Linked DNA regions of Homo sapiens: region 1 is linked to region 2. Evidence: promoter capture Hi-C in 16 types of primary human blood cells and fetal thymus (Javierre and others, 2016). All regions are on one chromosome and are shown on one strand. Each heading gives the region's core, a stretch centred on a gene start or on the middle of the fragment in contact. The rest is flanking DNA. Distances are from core to core; before and after follow the strand shown.

Region 1 (2,700 bases), core at 75-2,574, 60 kb after region 2:
AATGGAGGTGGGGGTTTAAAATCCTTGCCCCTGGGACTAAGCTGGTGCAGGTCCTGGGAGCATCAGCAGTGATTGATTGAGTCACAGCCTCACCACTGCAGCCAGACCTGAACTTCCTCACAGCTCAGCAACACCCAGCAGGTCACTGAATGTCCCCAGGGCAAGTCCTCTACTCACTCACTATTAGCGGGTGCTCAGTAGAAGGCACCCGTTTTCCATTATTTTATTAACTATTTCTTGGCTATCGTCTCTGTGCAGGACTTTGTTCTACAGCAGTGACAAGAGCTGCCCTCGGGCAATGTAGTGCAAAGGTTGGGGTGGGAGAGACTAACGAGAGTCATAAAGCACCTAGCCGGTGAGATAGTAAGTATTCAGGTAAAGAAGCAGACGGGGAAGTACACAAGAGGTGCAATTTTATTTTATATTTTTAGAGACAGTTTCTTGCTCTTTTGCCCAGGCTATAGTGCAGTGGAGCGATCAGAGCTCACTGCAGCCTCCAACTCCTGGGACCAAGCGATCCTCCCACCTCAGCCTCCCCCCGTAGCTGGGACTACAGGCATATGCCACCATGCCCGGCTTCTCAGAGCTGCAATTTTAAATCGGGAGATAGAGAAGACCTCCCTGTGGAGGTGGCAGGTTATCAAGATAGGTGTAGAGAAGAACCTTCCAGTCAAAGGGAAAAGGCAGGTCCTGCTGTGCTCAGGAATGGCCAGAAATACTATCATCCCCATCTTAGAGACGGGGACAGGGCCGCAAAAGTGTCAGGGCGTTTCCTGGCTCCTCAACAAACAGCTGGATCCGAAGTGGTCTGGGGGATGAGCCGCCCTGCCTGGGGCGGACCTCCCCTGGAGCTCAAGGGCTCGCAGGGCGCACAGGCCTCTTGGGCCCCGGGTCCGGCTCAGGCTCGGGCTTGGTGCCAGCAAAGGGACCTGCGCGGTGCCCTGGGGCCGGGGAGGCCCGAAGGCCATCGCCCGTGCGGCGCGGCGCATAGAGGTCCCGGCGGAGGTCGGGGTGCAGCGGGAGTAGGAGGCGCGCCTATGGAGGGGGTTCCAGGCCCACTCCAACAGCGGCAGGATACGGAGGAGTTAGGGCGGCTCCAGGCAGGGGGGCGGACCCCAAGCCCTTGCCCGCCTGCCGCCGCCTGGTCTCCTTCCTTACCCGAAGGGTTGCCACGGCGGGCGGGAAGCCGTGCACGACGAGCACTTTCTCCCTGGGGAGGAGAACGGGGGTGTCCCTGTGAGCCCTGCCGCGCCCAACCGCGGGTCCCCTCCAATTCCACCCGAGAGCGGGGTCCTCACTGCCGGCTTCAGCCTAGCCCCAGGCCCTGCCCCTAAATGAAGTCACGCCCCCTGCACCTGCCCACCTCAGGCCGCGCCTCCAGCCCAGGTACCCACCTGTCCCCCCTCTTCTCTCTCCTGCGCTCCATCCGACCCCAGCATGCCCACCAAGACCCCTACGCTGGCCCGCATCCTGGATCATCACCTCCGCCCCAGCCAGCTCCTCCCCGGAGTTCCACCGCCAAGATTCCCAGGGCACTGTCTCCCCGTCATGCTCCTCCTCTGTGACAGTCCCGTCCCCACCCTGGACTCCCCACCCATGTCACAGGCATGCCCTTCCCTCTCATCAGGCTTGTGCCCAGCGGGGTCCGCCTCCTCCAGGAAGCCTTCCTCCTGGCACAGAGACCCTTCCGGTCTCACCAGGAGTGCAATGGCCCGATTTGGCTCACTGCAACCTCTGCCGCTGCCCCCTGCCCCATCTTTCAAGCAATTCTCCCGCCTCAGCCTTTTGAGTAGCTGTAATTACAGGCACGTGCCACCATGCCCGACTAATTTTTGTATTTCTATTACAGACGGGGTTTCACCATGTTGGTCAGGCTGGTCTCGAACTCCTGACCTCAAGTGATCCAACCGCTTTGGCCTCCCAATGTGTTGGGTTTACAGGCTTGAGCCACCGCGCCAGGCCTGGGCCCTGCCTTTTGTGTGGCCCCCATTGTGCTGCTGGACCTGACAAGCAGGGCTGACAGTGAACCCCATATAAACGTGGCCCTGATGACGGGGGTTCAGGCCGTAGAGCAGGTAGATGCTGAAGAAGCGCCCCGGCCTAGCCGCGACTCCCGTGGAACTCTTTGAATTTTAGGAAATTCTCCTTAAACACACTTCTGGTTCAGCACCGACATCAAGAAGAGAGCCTCTCCACCACCTGCAAACTCACTTTGTCCCTCCCTGGTTCTTCCCGCTGGGCGCCCACTATGCTGCGGTCTCGCCCATCTGTAGCTGAGCCCAGCAGCCCCTGTAGGACACCTGGCCGAACGGGTCACAGTCCTGCTGGGCTCACTCGGGAGATGGAGGCTCCCAGGGGCTCCTCCAACAGCCCCAGGGCTGCTCTCTGGTCACTGCACCTGCCTGGGCTGCCACTCTGCTTCTCATCTGCACAGCAGGAGAAAAACTCCACAGAGCGTGCTGTGGGCGGGGCCGGCTGTGCAGGGAGCACCGGGTCCTTGCCCTGCCCCTGTCCTCCACACTCCCCTACAGGGACTGTGCCCCTGGCTGCATCCTGCATTTTCCTCCTTTTGTCCACAGGTATGAGGTAGATGACATTGATGAAGAAGGCAAAGCGTGAGTGTCCAGGCCAGGGCAGGGCATGGAGCCTGGGGGCAGCCTACCAGCTGGGAAGGAGCATCCCCACCCGGCCACAGGTTGA
Region 2 (2,700 bases), core at 81-2,580:
TAAGTAGAACTGCAGCTGGGTGGATGGGCATGTCATTCACTGACCTGACGCCCACAGAAAGAACTGCAAGTGTGATGGAAGAAAATGATGCATTAATTTTGGGGTTAACATAGTTTCAGTGCTAACGCCTGAGATTCTCTAATAAACAGAAAAATACTGACGGGGCTGAGGTTGGTGGCTCATGCCTGTAATCCCAGCACTTTGGGAGGCTGAGGCAGGAGGATCGCTTGAGCCCAGGAACTCAAGACCAGCCTATGCAACATAGCAAGACCCCCATCTCTACCAAAAAAAATTTAAAAATCAGCAGAATGTGCTGGTGTGTGCTTGTAGTCCTAGCTACTCAGGAGCCCTGATGGCACCACTGCACTCCAACCTGGACAACAGAGCGAGACCCTGTCTCAAAGAGAAAAAAAAAGAAACATGTGATGGCCAGGCACTGTGCTAGGTACTAGGAATACACAGGTGAACACAAGATGATCCCAATCTCATAGGACTTGCAAGTTTATCAAATAATCAACAAATAATTACAGACATTTGTAGGTTATGTAAGAAACTTTAAGATACCAGGATGGCTTTCGATAAAATACCATTGAGGCTACATGTCCATTGCACGTCCATATCCTTAGTACTTTCCTGAGAAGATTCCCTAGAAGTGCGATTTCTGGGTCTAAAGATCTGCTTGTTTTTTGTTTGTTTGTTTTTTTGAGATGGAGTTTCCCTCTTGTCACCCAGGCTGGAGTGCAATGGTACAATCTCCAGTCACTACAACCTCCGCCTCCTGAATTCAAGCGATTCTCCAGCCTCAGCCTCCCCAGTACCTGGGATTACAGGCACCCGCCACCACGCCCGGCTGATTTTTGTATTTTTTAGTAGAGACGGGGTTTCACCATGTTGGCCGGGTTGGTTTCAAACTCCTGAACTCAGGTGATCCGCCCGCCTTAGCGTCCCAGTGTTGGGATTACAGGCGTGAGCCACCGCGCCCGGCCTGTTTTTAATTAATTTTTTAACAACAGACTTTTATTTTTTAGGGCATTTTTAGGTTCACAACAAAATTGAGCAGAAAGTACAGTTTTCATATTACCCCTGCGCCCACCCACCTCCAGCAAGCAGCAATCTGTTCGCTTTCAAGTTTTATTTATTTATTTATTTATTGCATTTTGTTTTAAATAGAGTCTGGGGAAATGGGAGAAAACGCTGAAAACGCACAAGCACTTTGGTTGGTTAAATTAGGGTTCCGCCAAGAGCCGGAGCGGTGTGCCAAGTGAAAACTACATTTCCCACGGGGCAGCGGGTCACGTCACAGAGGAACGACTACGCATGCGTGCAAGGTCCTCCGCGCGCGACTACGCTCATAAAAGGAAAAAAAAGCGTGTGCGGTTCTCGACGTGCCGCCAATCTTCGAACGCAGGTCTGTGATCATCCGCAGACTCCGAAAAAGGGTTCGAGGAACGCGCCTGCTCCCCTCGTCGCAGTTTCCAGCCCGACGAGCTTGTTTTGTCCCGGACTCGGTAGGTGGCGACGGGCCGTGGCCTGAGACCTCCGGCGAAACGCGGGAGCGAAGGGCTGAGTCCTCCCTCCGCGCCGCGGCTCCCGACCTCCCTGAGGCGGCGCTCTAGGGGCGGTGCGCACGCGCTCTGGGCGGGAGGGGGGCGGGGCTCGTGGGGGTGGGGGCGGGAGAGGAGGGCGGGGCCGGGGCTCGGGGAGGGCGGGCCCTGCGCCCGGCCGCTCGAGGTCTGCGCTTGCGTGCTTCCATCCCCGGCGAGGGTGGGAAACAGCGACACGCTGGGCTCGGCACGGACGCAGCTTCCAGGTGGGGTACTCGGACCCGGGTCACGAAGATGCGGACAGAGGATGGGCCCCGAACTCCAGCACTTATTTTATGATTTGCACAAAAATTTTGTATATATATATAGTTCTTAACAAGATACACTAACAGCTCGTCGTTTGCCCAGGAGGCTCAACCTCCCGCCTCGGCCTCCCAAAGTGTGGGGAGTATAGGCGTGAGCCCCCGCGCCCGGCCAAAAAATGCCCGTCTTAAGAACAACAAAACAGCCTCCTTCACCCTCGCTATCCTCCAGTTACCTCCTCCTCGGCTCCGGTTTGCAGCCAAAGGCCTTAGTCTACCCTCACTAATGCCTTTTCTCCTCCAAGTCTTGAACCCTTGAGCCTCTAGTCAGGCTTTGGTCTCCACCACTCCACTAAAAAGGCTTCTTGTCAAAGCCACCAGTGATCTCTAGGTGGCCAAATGCATTGTTAAGTTAGGTCTCAGTCCTGTTCAGCATTTGATGCTGTGGATCACTGCCCCTCCTTGAAACACTGTTTTCATTTGGCTTGCTGAACGTTCTCTTCCTTTGCCTCTGCTCTCTCTGGCTTCTCCTCTGCTGATTCTAACCTAGGCATCATCTCACATTTTTGTTTTTATTAGAGACACGTTCTCTGTTGCTCAGACTGGAGAACAGTGGTGTTATTACAGCTCACTGCAGCCTCAAACTCTTGGGCTTAAGCAGTCCTCCTAACCAAAGCCTCCCCAAATGCTGGAATTACAGGCATGAGCCACCGCAATCCCAGTTTCACATTTTAAATGTAAATACTGGCCAGGCGCGGTGGCTCATGCGTGTAATCCTAGCACTTTGGGAGGCCGAGGTGGGCAGACTGCCTGAGCTCAGGGGTTTGAGACCAGCCCGAGCAACGTGGTGAAAT

What was found. The method cuts DNA at HindIII sites, captures the fragments that hold promoters and counts their contacts. A CHiCAGO score of 5 or more calls a contact.
Region 1: a fragment that was not itself captured here is called in contact with the fragment with the promoter of SGF29 in region 2 in 2 of 17 cell types (M2 macrophages and M0 macrophages); the score reaches 6.6 in M2 macrophages.

The regions. Positions count from the first base shown.
Region 1 is chr16:28,612,759-28,615,458 of GRCh38, forward strand. LOC107984835 (a long non-coding RNA gene) reads left to right here. Exons shown (of 2, transcript XR_007065036.1): 2 at 2,580-2,700. LOC124903674 (a long non-coding RNA gene) reads right to left here and starts at 1,773. Exons shown (of 2, transcript XR_007065047.1): 1 at 1,446-1,773; 2 at 1-1,210. It also overlaps a transcript of SULT1A1 not described here. RefSeq lists enhancers at 1-171, 419-969, 970-1,519, 2,508-2,700. The HindIII fragment of the contact is 7,854 bases long and covers 1-2,700 here.
Region 2 is chr16:28,552,590-28,555,289 of GRCh38, forward strand. SGF29 (SAGA complex associated factor 29) reads left to right here and starts at 1,331. Exons shown (of 10, transcript NM_138414.3): 1 at 1,331-1,508. RefSeq lists an enhancer at 1,300-1,619 and a silencer at 1,640-1,759. The HindIII fragment of the contact is 18,994 bases long and covers 1-2,700 here.